Linked DNA regions of Homo sapiens: region 2 is linked to region 1. Evidence: promoter capture Hi-C in 16 types of primary human blood cells and fetal thymus (Javierre and others, 2016). All regions are on one chromosome and are shown on one strand. The core of a region is centred on a gene start or on the middle of the fragment in contact, and the rest is flanking DNA. Distances in the headings are between cores, read along the strand shown. Region 1 holds the start of CCDC150 (coiled-coil domain containing 150). Region 2 holds the start of SATB2-AS1 (SATB2 antisense RNA 1).

Region 1 (6,867 bases), core at 4,048-6,547:
GCTGAGATTACAGTTATGTGCCACCATGCCCGGCTAATTTTTTTTTTTTTTGTATTTTTAGTAGAGACGGGGTTTCACCATGTTGGCCAGGCTGGTCTCAAACTCCTGACCTCAAGTGATCTGCCAGCCTCAGTCTCCCAAAGTGCTGGCATTACAGGCATGAGCCATCACGCCCAGCCTATTTTTCTTTTTACTCTTACTATGGTGTTTCTGACCAGAATTTTTCTTTCATGCCCTACTGTGAAACTTTTTTTGACACAAGCTTTTTGCATTCTTTAGATTTGTTGTTAAGTCAGCTTAAGGACATGGGGTGAAAGAAGCTCCCTTCTATTAATTAACTTTCATTTTTTTCAGTTCATTCCTGAAGGAAAGACAAAGACATGCAGATATTGATGCAGTCTCTGGACACGCAAAATATTCGAAGTGGGGCTCCTCTACATTTCTGGGAAAAAAAAAACTGATGTGGAGACTCCTGGTAATGTTACCACATGAGCCAGTATAGTATTCCTCAAGTAGTAAACGAAAGAGCCTCTGAGTAAGCCCGTCGGGCTGGATCAGCTGCCATAAACCAGGGCTGCAGTTGGTGGAGCCACCAACAGCACTGGGTGGGGAAAAAATGGAGGGGTAACAATGGAGAAACACCTCCATTCTATTTTCTGTCACCTGCTGTCCAGCTACTGACCTAGAGATAAATCATGCCAAAGATGGGGAGAAAACCTAGGGAAAGGGTGGCTAATAGGGTGTGCGCAGACACAGCTCCTTTGTCCTCTCTCCAAAAGAAGCAGAAAAGCTCATGACCCCAGCCTCGCCTCAGCAGGCACACTCATGTGATATATTCTGGCCAAAGAGACTTTGGGCAGAAGTTTGCAAAAGGGCTCCTAGGCAGACTTTTGTTTTTCTAGATTAAAAAAAGAGTAATGATGGCACCTGTCTTTTCCTACCCCCTTACAATTCCCAGAGCGTTCCATCAGTCAGGTATGCAGCAGCTCACTCTCAAATATAAACGAAGAGCCAAGGATCACCAGTGTCTGATAAACACAAGGAAAAGACAGAGAACCTCAGACTATGTTGACACTTGGGCAAAACCAGTAATCTTCAAACTCTGCTTATGTGAGATAAAAAACTTTTTTTTGTTTGTTTTAGTCACTTTCTTCTACATATAGTAGGCCCAGGCATTAGCTGGTGGAAAAACAAGTAGAAGGAAGAAGTAAAAATGACAAGCAGTGCTGGAGAGGGGAAGGGAGAACAATTTCTGTGGCAATTTATTAGACCCAGGTAGCTGGTTATAATATAGAGTCTTGTCTATGTTCATTTATATCAGAAGCCAAGCACATAATACTAATACTCATATTGCAAAAGTCTGTCTTTGGAAAAAAATGGAAATGGAGAAGCTCCCCCACATATTTTGAATAGGATGCAGATTCCCAACTAAAATTTTTTCATGTAATTGTTCAAATGTTTAGTTTTGTTGATATTTCCCTAAGGAACCTATGATCTGTATTAAATGCTTACATTGGCTCTCCAGGACATGTGTACATTCAGCCATGAAAACAAAACAGCAAATCATTTAAATTGCTTCACTTGTTTTAAAAAAAAGAAGGTCCAACATGTCGCGGTAGGAATTTGGTTTGCATCCACACTGAGTGCCACCCGACCCTGCTCTACACTGAAGCTTCTCAGGCTTCCATAGAGAAAATATACTTTCAAAAAGGAGCAACCAACTTGGCCCAGCCTCTGAGGGGAAGGAGGTTTATAGAAAATTCACCCTAAGAAGGGGGAGATTGAGGTGACTCGGACACTGATTGATGGTTGGCAGGGCACAAAGCTTTTGAGTGAAATACATGGTGTTGTCCTTAAAATATCCTCTTAGTCAATCGCTGAGAATCCTGTTCAGGTCATCAAAGTTGCTGAAACAAAAATTAAATAAGCCAATCTAGCCTTTGGGGATTTACTAAAAACAGATCTCATGGCCAGGCACAGTGGCTCATGCCTGTAGTCCCAGCATTTTTGAAAGGCCTATGTGGGAGGATCACTTGAGGCCAGGAGTTCCAGACCAGCCTGGCCCACATGGCAGGACCCTATTCTCTTCCAAAAATTTTTAAAAATGAGCTGGGCATGGTGGCCTGTGCCTGTAGCCCTAGCTACTTGGGAGGCTGACGCAGGAGGATCACTTGAGCCCAGGAGGTAGAGGCTGCAGTGAGCTATGATTGTGCCACTGCACCCCAGCCTGGGTGACAAAGCAAGACCTTGTCTCTAAAAAAAAATAAAAAATGAAAACAAGTCTCAGGGTTAGTTAAAAACCTTCCCTCCCAACCACCACCTCCACTTCCCGCCATGGGAAAACAAAAACAAAAACCAAACAATGCCAAGGTCAGGAGAGTCCTTGGAAGCAAGGGAGGGGGCGGTAATGGCTGAGTAGCAAGAGGACAGCCTTAAAGCCACCAGGCAGAGTCCCCGAGTATCTGGGAGGCTGTTAAAGTATGAGATAAGAACTTTCAATCCAGTAAATTAATCTACCAAGTTGGGGCTTAAAGTTAGAGAGAGATTCTCATTTTCACTGCAGTTGCTCATACCCTTGCCTGTCCTCCCCATCTGGTAGGCCCAAAGCAGTGGTAGCAGAAATGCCACCCACACCCCTACATACATAAATACACGCACACTCTCCAATGGCCACTTGGCAGATCCTCATAAGTCATAGTTCTATGGCTCATAGTCTAAGAAGCACAGTCTTACATGAAAACAATCTACCTCTAATGGCTGACATTCTAGCAAAGAGACAACAGCTTTAACATATCTGTGCTTTGTTGTGTTTGAAAAGGAGCAAATATTGATTGCTGCCTTGAACCTAAGTCCTAACGCTTGATAGTAACAATAATAAAAATACTGAGATATAAACTTTTATTTTTAAAAAAGTTCATTCATAACTAATTTCTATGCATATATTATTATCAAACTAACAGAATTCTGTCTTGATGTTTAGGGAGAATATTTCCAAAGAGCTTCTAGGCAGGTAACCTTATGGAAAGCATGGCAAGAAAAAGACCAATGTCACAAGTAATATACTAGTAAAAACCAGATGACTTTGAAAAGAGAACACATGCTTCTGTGGACACAGGCTCCATTCCTACACCTGGCAATAGGTGTACACTGGCAAAAGCGTATACAAGTACATGCTGTTGGTTCCAAAATAACAGTCCAGGGAGTCAATGTTGTTTATCACAACCACTAGAAAATAATATGGTAACACTGTCTTCATTCACTCACACATCTAACAAATATTTCCTGAACATTTACCATGAGCCACACACTGTTATAGGCAATGAGGCGGGGGGCAGGGGTTGGGTAGAACAGTACGAACAAAACTCCCTGCCTTCGTGGAGCTTATATTCCAGCTGAAGAAGACAGACACTAAGTAAAATACATAGTTTGTTTATTGGTGATAAGTGCAAAGGAGGAAAATGAAATAGGAAAGAACATGGTATGGAGGCTACAGGGCAGATTTTCATTTTAAACAGGGTGGTCAAAGAAGGCCTCATAACATTTGAGCAAAGACCTGTTATATAGATATCAGAGGGCAGAAAGGCCCAGAAGACGGAAACAGCAAGTGCAAAGGCCTGAAGTTAGAAGGTCTGATGAGTCCGCACATAATAAAGAGGTGGGTTTGGCTGGAGAGGAAGGAGTAACACAGAGAACATTGAGAGATGAGGTCAGACGGTAATAATAAAACCAGAATACGGCTGGGCGCGGTGGCTCACGCCTGTAATCCCAGCACTTTGGAAGGCCGAGGCGGGCAGATCAAGAGGTCAGGAGATCGAGACCATCCTGGCTAACACGGCGAAACCCCGTCTCACTAAAAATACAAAAATAAAAATAAAAAAAAAATTAGCCGGGCGTGGTGGCGTGCTCCTGTAGTTTCAGCTACTCGGATGGCTGAGGCAGGAGAATGGTGTGAACCCAGGAGGCGGAGCTTGCAGTGAGCTGAGACTGCTGCACTCCAGCCTGGGCGACAGAGCGAGACTCCGTTTCAAAAAAACAAAAAACAGAATACACAGAGCCTTGAAGGCCATTGTAGAAGTCTGGCTTTTGCTGTCAGTGATTCTCAGAGTCACTGGAGGTCTATAGCTGAGGAATGCTATCCAACTTTCCTTTTAACTGGATCATTTTGACTCCCTCCCACTCCAAATGGTGGAAGAACAAAAGCAGAAGTAGAGATGCTGCTGGCCAGAACCAAGGTGACAGCAGCGGTATTCCTACTGTAAGAAGTGGTTAGTGGTTAGATATACTTGAAAGATAGCTTTTGCTGATGCATTAGATATGAGATATGAGGGAAAGGAAGAAGCCAAGATTACTACAGGGTTTTTGGCCTGGATGGTGCTATCACTGAGACAATGCAAACTTATTAAGGAAGAATCCGTTTTGTGGAAAAGATAAAGAGTAGTTTTTAAAATGTCAAATTTAAAACATGAAAGATACCAAATACATTATTGAATTTGTGGATCTGAAGTTTGGGGGTGAGGTGTGGACTGGAGACTAATTTCTGAAGAGCTCAAGAAAACCATAAGGCGGGATAACAGAGAACACAAAGGATTAAAGGACCTAGTCCTGAGCACGCCAAGATTAACAAATTAGAAGCATGTGTTGGGGGGCATTTAAGACGGACTAATACGAACTTCTCTAAAGTGGGGTTAAAAATAGACATTTTTCTATCTTTAGAGCCTAATACAGTGCCTGGGAAATTATAGGTGGTAAATAAACAGGAGAATACTTCGACAGGAATTTAACGAATGTCTATTCCGTTCTAGCAAGAGCGCCAGGTACTGCGGAAACCGTAAAGAACAAGTGCAAATTCCTGACACCTATATTCTGGTAAGCAAGCCAGGGAGGATTAACTGGTGGCAAAAATCAAACATTAACGCCGAAATAGCCTTCCCAGGAACCTATTAAACTCCAACTTAACACATAAATAAAGGTGGTATTGGGCTTATCTGGAGGCTTCGGTGGCTATCTCCCATCCCTCAGCTGGAGCCAGGCCAATGCAAACTTCGCTCCTAAATGGCTTTCACCGGCAGCCAACGCCAAAGCGCCTTAAATCAGGGCCCTGAGGTCCAGGGAGTGAGACTGGACTCCGTCAGGACAGGGAGAGGGCGCCAGGGAGTGGTGACTGTCCTTATCTGAGCCGAAGCCTCGCGAGCCTCCGACCACCCCTCACCAGCCCGGGGCCCGGCAGCCTCACCTTACAGTCCATCTGTCCGCCTGAGGCTCCGTACTGCAGCAGGCGAGCGGGTTTCCGTGGAACTAACACAGCATTTTAAACCAACCCGCTCCCCGGCGCAGTAGCTCCGGTACGCAGGCGCACCCGTGGCAGGGCATGTCGGGAACTGTAGTTTTCCCGGCCCAGGAGGGCCCTCAGCCCTGGGCGGGACCCAGGCCGGCATCCGGCGGCGCTCAGGGAATGCGTAGCGCCGTGAACCGAATGGCGGCAGGCTCCACTGTGCTCGCGAGCGGGGCACGCCGGGATATGTAGTTTCCGGCGCCTGCCCTCCGGGGGGTCCTGTGCTGCCCACTTCACAGTGACTTGTCTCCGCCTGGTGAACTCGCGGTGTTCTGCTAATCTTGGTAAATACATACCCTACAGCAGAGTAACGAGCATAAAAATTGGTTAAAAATTCAGAGCTTAAACATTCTTCTCGTTAAAGGAAAAATCAAGTCCCTCTTCGTCCTCGTCCATGATGGCCACATGGAGAGTAAAACACAGAAATCTGTTTTCAGGTCTTTCGTCTCTTCAGCATAAATTATTTCTTGCCCTGTCTACAAGTTAATAGGTATTTGTAAATCTGAGTGTAAGTAGCTATGAAACGGAAAAGAGCATTGAGCTGTCCCTGGTTTTTTTGGTGGTTTGCTTTTTTGAGATAGGGTCTTCCTCTGTCGCCAAGGGTGGATTACGGTGGTGCGATCTCGACTCACTGCAGCCTCGACCTCCCGAGCTCAAGCGATCCTCCCATCTCAGCCTCCCCAGTATCTGGGACCACAGGCGCGCGCCACCACGTCTGGCTAATTTTTGTATTTTTTCGTGGAGGCGGGGTCATCACCATATTGCTCAGGCTGGTCTCTTTGGGCTCGAGCCATCCGCCCACCTCGGCCTCCCAAAGTCCTGGGATTACAGGCGTGCATCACCACACCAGCGTTTCTGAGTTGTTTTGCTTTAAGAATATGTATTCTCACTTAAGGGAAAGCCTTCTATAGTGCAAAGACGCGGCTTTGCGTTTTGGTAGCTGGACAGAACACCTGTTATCCCTGCCAGGGCAATTAAAATGCATTTCTCTCTTCTCCCTGAGAGTGCAGCCAAGAATCACTTCAGCCCTCTCATATAAGCAATCAGATCCGAGATGAGAGCTCATTTACTTAGCCTGACAATTGATCTTGCTATTCTAATTCTTTTCATAGCGGAGCCTCAATGTGAGATGCAGAGACTGCCCATCAAACCACAGCCATATTCATCAAGCTTTGAGCCGATCCGGTGAAGAGAAATGAGCACTGCATACATTATTCAGAGAAAGGGACCAAATAAAGCTTTTAATAGGAAATGAAAATGTATTTTAAAGCGTCAGTGCAAACAGCCAATTATTTTCATTATGTATGTTTTATCTTGCAATGACCTCTGGTTTATCAGTGGAATTAAGAGATGAGTGATACATGTATCCACGTGTTTTTGTGTAATGAGAGTTTTCACCTTCTCCTCAAATCTCCATATTAAGCAGCAGTCAGGGAACCAAACTGATTAAATTCGTGTTTTTCATTTGTTTTCCCTTATTCACTGTCTGGCAAACCGTATAAGAACTTAAGCAATTACAGAGTTAGAGAAAAGGA
Region 2 (7,633 bases), core at 1,668-4,167, 2.8 Mb before region 1:
CGGGCGGGAAGACCTCGGAGCTGAGGGCTTCTTGGGGTGGCTCTTTGAGCAGGTAATTCTGCGGCGAAATCGAGAGCGGGTGACTGACACGCTCGGTGACGACGGCCAGGCGGGGCAGCACCCTTTCCGGTTAACAAAATGATTAACCTTCCTGCCTTGCCTGTAGTGGGCTCTCCCCTCCTCCTTCACCCTCCCTTCCTCCGGGATTAGGGGGTGCTCTTTTCAAGGAGAGACTGGAGACTCGAGATGTGGGCCCTTTCTCGCCTCCGCGCGGCCTTTCCTCGGAGCCAGGCTGGGGAACCCGGTGAGGCACGCAGACCAGTCCCTTCGAGACGCCCGCCTCGCGGAATCGGGTTCACCGGCCCTGTCCCGCACGGTCCCCTGGGTCATCTCCCCCTGCAACCACTTGTCTGAAACTTACCAGATTCCAACCTTAAGGCAGGAAAAAAAGTGTTTCATATACAAACTGATCAGGGTATTTGCAGATAATTGCGAATGTCAAATACTCGGGCGTGATGACAAAGTGCAGAGATTGCCAGGGCCAGAGCTTGGCCTGAGGGGCGGGGGCTGCTGGCGGGGCTCCAGGGCCACCTCAGGCCTGCCCAGAGGCGGGCCTGCGAGGGGTAGAGCAGTCAGCCGCAACTGCCAACAGCCCATTTAACGAAGACGGCTGCTTCTTCTACCCCTCGGCTATGGAGCTGATTCATGGATTCATTCACTTAGTCTATACTGGAGCTCCGCTCAGGGAGGAGGTGCGAGAGTGGATACTGCACCAGCCCAGCTCTCTCTCCCTCACTCCCCACTCCTGATGCACAAATACCTCACTGCAAGATTCCCCACAGGTGGAATTGCTGGGCCTCAGTTGGATGCTTAGGCCCAAAGCGAAGGCCCTGCCAGGCGGTGCTCCCAGAGCTAATGTCCTGTGGCAGAGTAGGAAAGAGCTACAAGCCATTTAGGACAAACAAGTGCACCCTTTGATACTGAGGTTAGTCTTCAATAGAAATAAAGAGGGACATTAAAAAAAAAAAAAGGAAGAGGAAGAAACGAAATACTGGACCCACCCACCCCAGTCCTCCTACCGGGTTGCAGGAAGCCATCCTGGTGCCATCAGAGCCTGGGTGCAAACGGCCCACCAGAGCTGACCCTGCCAAGCTCTCAGTGACAGCAAAGGTGGCTGCTCTCAACAGCTTTCAGAGCAACTCCTCTGAGACCCTACTGCAGGCACACTCAGAATGTTTCAAGTGCCTTGGATTCTTAAAAAAAAAAAAGAGAGAGAGAGAGAGAAAGAAAAAGAAAGAAAGAAAGAAAGAAAAAAGAGTGGGGCGTGGAGGGTGGTGTTACTCTTGTTGGATTCCACATCTACTGAAAACTGAGTGGATCAATTATGGGTGATACCATGATGTTGGTGGCAAGTCTGGCTTCCCAGGCCAGAATCGCAGGGGTTTCAGGACCTGGATGCTGAGACCGAGAGGAGCAGTGGAGGCAGGGACACCCCATTCTGCATTAGGTGGCATAAGCTGCAGTCACTGAGGCCCTGGCCCCGGGGTCCTGTGTCCTAGGCCAACGTGGTGGTGGTGAGGGGGCTGGGAGGGGTATATTGCGGTAGGGATGCTGAAAGACCTTGACCTGACTGCCCTCTCCTTTCTGAGAGCTAAAGAATGTGGTGGGGATTCTTCCAAAGCCGGGAGAAGGCAAGACTAGTGTGTGCTAGTGGGTGCAGCTGGGCTGCAGAGGGAGGGAATTCCTGCCGACTACAGGGAGCCCTCTGTGCTTGTCTCTCTCCCCCGCCCTCAGCCCTCTTCCCCTTTCATTGAATGCCTGAAGTCAGAGCCTACCTGGAAACCCTCAAAATTTTACACTCCACTTGTCCGAGGTTTCCAATGATGACAAATTTGAAAAACGCTTCGGCTGAAGCCCGGCACCTAAGGCTGAGAGTTGGGGGGAGGGGAGGCTGTTGGATAAAAGCTCCTTGGAAAAGACACACTTGCCTCCCCCTTTTTCGCCACGCGGAAACTGGCCGGTCTGGACAAGGGATTGCGCTGGGCTAAGGCCTCGGGCTGGGGAGAGCTCCAGCAGCCTGAAAGCCGAATCCGCAGAAGTTATCCACCTGGCTCCTTAGCCACCGGCCAACAAGAGGGCTCTGGGCGTCCCGCCCTTCACGCCTGTATTAGAAAGGCCTGAGTCTGGCCGGGAGACCTGACTTGAGGTCTCTTGGGAGGAGCAGGGGGTGCCAGTTCTGCAGGGGACTTGCCCAGTTCCAGTGAGGCTGATGTAGAAAACAATAGCTCTGTCCTCAGCCTGGGCGGCCAGCCGGGGCCGCACGTGTAAGATGTGATTCTATCTGAGTTTCCAAATCTAAGTGCATTGATTGAGGCCCAAAGAGTTCACGGCGCATAACTGTCTTAATTAAACCTGCTATAAACAGACAAATCACTTCTTGTTCTTGTAAATAGAGCTTGGGGAGATGGCACAGGGTCTGGCAAAAGCCAGGCTTGGGGAACATTCTTAAAAAAGGAAAAGAGTACTGAGACACAGACAGAAAAAGAATAAAACTGGAGTATCCACATCTTCAGAAAATAGCTCAACTGAAACCAAAATATGCCATAGCAGGGAAGTAATGTGAGACACCCTAAGTTCCCAGAGCAGCTCAGTGGAGGCTGGTAGCCCAGGATGGGACCAATGGTGGAAAAGCAGGGAGCCGGAGAGACCACAGGTTGTTTGGGGGAGGACAGGTGCCCATTGCTGAGGCTCTGAGCTACTCTACTTGGCCCTGCACTTTCCTTGCCAATCCTTCCATCTTTCCCTGCCACTGATCTCAACTTCCTGATACTGAGAGACAGTGCTGGGAGGACAAGTACTCTCTCAACTTGGTCAGCTTGGGGGACAAGGGCTGGTCACCAAGAGCTCAGAGATAGCAACAACTGGGGATGATGGGTGATCATAGGAGTCCAGCGGGAGCAGATGGGAAGAAAAGTTGTCTGTGATCCTCTGGGAAAGCAGAAAATGGGGAGTATGTACACCCACAGCTCAGATTCTGCTGTCCCTAAGTGCCGGCAAGGGCTGGGGGATGATCTTGAGTAGGGTCAGGTGCTCCAGTGCCCCAGCTGTTGGGTGTCCAGAAGAGGTTAGGTGTGTGGTAGCTCTGGGAAGAATGCGCGAGACGTCCTTCACTTGGAATGTGCAAAGGGCCGGGTCTGTCTCCAAGTAACTCCGGGTCTCCGGAAGTTACCTGGCAGGGGCAGCCCTCAGCAGACTTTGGGTCTTACAGCATAAAACGAGACGAACTAAGGGGAGCCCACCACTTTTCTAGCTAAAAGTGGAAAGGAAAAGTTGTCTATAATATGTAAATACAGGAGATATGAGTGCACAGGTTTGGGTGGGTTCCTGGTAACTTCTGGAGCCGACTTTTCCCTGGTCTTGGTTTGCAAACTTTAATTCCCATTTCTTTTCCTTTACTATTTAGCATATGACTCTAACAATAATCTGATTCAGAAATACTCTTCATTTCGTTAGGCTAACATTGATAAGGAATTTAAGTTCAGGTAAATTTTAGCACAACACTTTTCTAAAAAGTAACTTTAAAAGTGTTTTTAACTTCCACACAACAAAAACGAAAAAAGTATATATCACTATGGTTGGAGAGAAACATTCTTAGATTGCCTTTATATTTCAGAGACTTTGTATAGGTGCCAGCAACTCCGCAGACACTAACAAATGGGTTATTTGCAGTTATTGTTCATGAAAGGTCTTTTATATTTTTAAATTACGGCATGGTTCCCAGGTGGAAAAATTCCTTACAATTAAGAACTGGTTTTCAAGAAGATTGGAAAACCAGAACAAAAATTACAACGTTTTATCATATAGAAGTCTTTACTGAAAACAACGGATATTGAGTGGAAGTCAGAATGTAATGAAAGTTAATTAAAATGCAAACTATTAGGGAAACACTGCAGATGTCTTTCTGTCATATCCAACGGGACAGTCTTTAGATATTCCACCCTCCCTTATATTATACTTGTATTGTGAGACTTGAATGGTTGTCAACAGTTTTCTGTTGACAGAAATAACAACAGTTCACCTTTGAAAACTCTTCACTCAAAGCTACAATGATGATTGCTCTCGAGACAAGGACTGCTGAAACAAATAACTTTCACACATCTACACTCACACTTGCACACCCCAAACGCACACGCAATTGCCGGTTTTTGAAAACGTTGCCTCTGAATGAGAAAGAGAGAGAGAGAGAGAGACTGAGAAAGTCGAACTCGAGCTTAGGTAACCAACAAACCCAATTACTAGGCTTTATTGATACTAAAAGGAAAAGTTCCCCTCGTAAAATTTCTCTGAGCTTATTAGTTATTTAAATCAGCCCCAGGGTTGGACGCGTGACGCCGAAGGCACCTTCTGTCGGCTCCTGGAGGTGAGCAGCCAGCGTCCCTGCGCCGACCCACAGCCCCTCGCTCCGTCCTGGGCACTTGGGGCGAAGGCGGGCGCAGCGAGCCGAGGTGAGCCACTGGGCAGGGGCGCAGGGCCCGACACGCCGGGAGAGAGCTCCGCGTGGCCTAGGGTAGGACACCGGGCATCACACTTTGGAAAGGAACAGGTCCCAGCCAATAATAAGGGAGTAGGCGAGTAGGCCACGCGACCGCGGGGCGCAGGAGCTCAGCCGGCCCGCTGCCTGGCTCGCCAGACCCCGGCCCGCTGGGCACCGGCCCCTGCGACCCGGCCGGAGCGCTGGTGTTCGCGCCGTGAGTCGGGCGCGGGGCGTCTCAGACCTCCAGGGCTCGCTAGTGTTTTGTGTGGGTCTGGGAGCTTTGCAATTGGGTGGGCACCAGGTGAATTTACACCTTTCTGGGTCGCTGTCTCAATAGTTGACAAGTCCCTCTGTGTGTGTGTGTGTGTGTGTGCGCGCGCGCGCGTGGAAATGGTGGTGGGGGTGTATGTGAACAGCTGAATTTATTGAAAATAAACCCCAACCCGCCCAGTGAAGTCCTCTAAGCCCGACACGGGGTTCCCAAGTCCGGATGTGGCTCCGGGACCGCGCGAGGCGATGCCCTGTTCCTCTGGGCTTGGCTGTAGGGCGGGGAGGGAAGGCACCACGGGGTGGGGGAGAACTGAGCCCGAGTCGCCGCCGTCACAGTCACTTGGGCCTTTCCCGGAGGCCAAGGTCTTGACGGACTGAAACGGTGTCCGAGGGGATTCGTGATACCGAGAAAACAGGCGAGGCGCCAGCTCGGGAAGCCCTCTAAGTTGGCCCCCACTCCTTACGAGTTTGGGCCGCCGGATACACTGCCCCCCTCGTCCCTGGCTCCAGTAGGTGTCTGGGACCGTGGGTCCCGCAGCGGGCTTTTTCGCCCTCTCCGCTTGGTTCAAGACCGGCGTGGGCCCATAGCCTCAAAGCGTTCGGGAGGCAACTGCGGTTTGGGCCCCCTTGCACCCGGCTGCCTGAGCTTGCCTGCCCCTACGAGGGGTGGGAGCGGATTTCTGGACGCCTGCTGGCCTGCCTGAAATTTGGGGTGCGGACCGGGTGCTATCTTGGGCTTTCCAGGTGTACTTTTCATTTCAAGGGGTTGGGACAAACTGTGGGCGTTCGTATTTTGCACGCGCCAGGGCGTTTTTGTGTTGAGTGGCCCGGTGGTACCCTGGGCCAGGGACCTGCCCATCCCCCGCCACATCCTTAACCCGTGGACTGCAGGCGACGCGGAAGGGTTGGCTCCGGGACGCGACCGGCAGAGCCGGCGCCGAAGGTTTCGGCCTCAGCCCACGCGGTGGCGCTGTCGGGAGAGGACGCTGGGGCTCCGGGCCGGGACCCGGGCAGTGACCCGGGCTCGAGGGTGGCGGGACATTGACGCCAAGCCGAGGCCTCGGGGCTCTTCGCAGCCACCTTGGGCCTGAGATCCTCTGCCTCACTCGGTGTTTCCCTAAGGAAAACGCGGCGGGTCGGGAGCGCCACCCGGGGCCCCAACCCCGGCAGCTCCGAGCTGGGGGCGGGGACGCAGCGGCGGCTCCTTCGGCGCTTCCTTTTCTTCCCCCACCCTTGCCTTGTTGTCCCGGTTTACAGTCGATTTCTACAAGTAAACTAGATTAGCAGGGCAGTCATTCTCTCGCAGCGTGGTTGCAGAAGGGGACCCACCTATTAAGTTCTGGGCTCTGCAAAAGAATGAAGGGCGCCCCGGGGGGCGTTGCCTGGTGTGGTAGGGTGGTGCTCCAGGCCGCAGGACCCTCCGTCTTCCCCGGTCCCCCGGCCCGCGGCCGCCGAAGGGACACCAGATCTCCCACCAACGACTCCCCCAGCTCTGAAACCTATCTCCTCGCTTTCTTCCCCCAGGGCAGGCAGTGCCCACACCCGACGCCCATCTCCTACCCCGGGAAGCCCAGTGCAGAAAGCTCCCCGTCCTCGCCTGAGGCAGCTCCTGGGCCGACCTTGGCAATTCCCTTCCCGCCCACCCGGCTCCTGAACGGTCGGCCCCACTAGCCCCAGACCCTCGGGCCTCTGGGGTGCTAGGCTCACCGCCTAGCGCAGACTCGTTGCCCACCATCCTTCCCCATCAGTCGTCCCTCTGAGGCGTATCTCTCTGCTCGGGCCGCAGGGGCTCATTCGCTTGGGGCCGGGAGGAGGACCTCCACAGTCTCTACCTCCGGCGGCCGACGGCTTCCTTCCCTCTCCGCCCCCGCCCAGACCCCCTGAGCTGCCGGGGGAGCCAGGAGTCATTTATCTTTGCCTGGCGCGGGTTGGGATTTGTCCGGCTCTGATGCCAACGAGGAAGGCGTGCGGATAACGAAGTAAGTGTCCCCCGCCCTGCGCTCCGGTCAGTCCCCAGACGCCCGGAGCACTCTGGGAAAGGGCTGAAGCCCACCCTGGGCGAACCGTCCTCCAAGGCGCGTCCCCCACTGGGGTATTCTGGCCCCTGGCTCTTGTCCTCTTGGCGCATCTGATTTCCAGTCTAAGCCCCTCGCGGTTATGCCGTCCGAGAAAGTGTTGGTCGCCAACTCTCCACGGACAGTCCGCGGCGGAAATTGGCTTCAGAGCTGGCGTGGGCTTCATTTGAAAGAAATGATTCCCTCCCGCCCTCCTCCCGCCCCCAGGAGGGCAAGCTCCAGGGGAAGAGGCAGGCCCGCTTGGGTTCCTAGAAGCCGTCGAAAGCTTTTGACGCGGGCGATTCCCATAGTTTTCCCTGCGTGTTCCAGGGTTGAGGGAAAACGCGGCGCAACTTTCCAGGGCTCTTTAAAAGGCAGGGTCTCTCTGCCTGGGTGACCGAACTTGAAAGCCATGGACCTTGGGGATGGATGCCGGGCCCTCAGAGCCCGGGATGGCCCAGGCGAGAGCCGAAGTCCCGCGCCCGGCACCCTGCACCCTCCACCCAGGCGCCCAGGCCTACGCTGTCCGGAGCGGGCCTCTAGGAAGGAAGGTTGACCAGGGTCGAAAGCACGCACAACAAAAACTTGGTGTCGACAAAGAGAAATCAAGAAACGTCATTAGAGTGCAGGCCATAAAAGAAGGCCTGACAGAGAGAAAAGGAGAGAAGATGGAAATAAGAAAAACCATACACCTTTAACACTAGCATATAAAGATCTATTGATTTTTAAAATAACAAATCCGTGTTTGTGAAAAACAGGCGGCCTTTTACTAAAT

The links. Contacts are between HindIII fragments. The CHiCAGO score rates a contact against its expected background, and 5 or more counts as called.
Region 2: a contact is called between a fragment that was not itself captured here and the fragment with the promoter of CCDC150 in region 1, in 1 of 17 cell types (non-activated CD4 T cells). The highest score is 6.6, in non-activated CD4 T cells.

What each region holds. Positions count from the first base shown.
Region 1 is chr2:196,638,145-196,645,011 of GRCh38, reverse strand. CCDC150 (coiled-coil domain containing 150) reads right to left here and starts at 5,297. Exons shown (of 28, transcript NM_001080539.2): 1 at 5,234-5,297. The coding sequence starts at 5,245. It overlaps LOC105373823 (a long non-coding RNA gene), which reads left to right and starts at 5,327. Exons shown (of 2, transcript XR_923747.3): 1 at 5,327-5,616; 2 at 6,445-6,584. RefSeq lists enhancers at 4,436-4,973, 4,974-5,511, 5,496-5,545, 5,566-5,785. The HindIII fragment of the contact is 4,677 bases long and covers 1,828-6,504 here.
Region 2 is chr2:199,461,708-199,469,340 of GRCh38, reverse strand. SATB2-AS1 (SATB2 antisense RNA 1) reads right to left here and starts at 1,243. Exons shown (of 2, transcript NR_026830.1): 1 at 1,080-1,243. It also overlaps a transcript of SATB2 not described here. RefSeq lists an enhancer at 6,261-7,026. The HindIII fragment of the contact is 8,458 bases long and covers 1-7,146 here.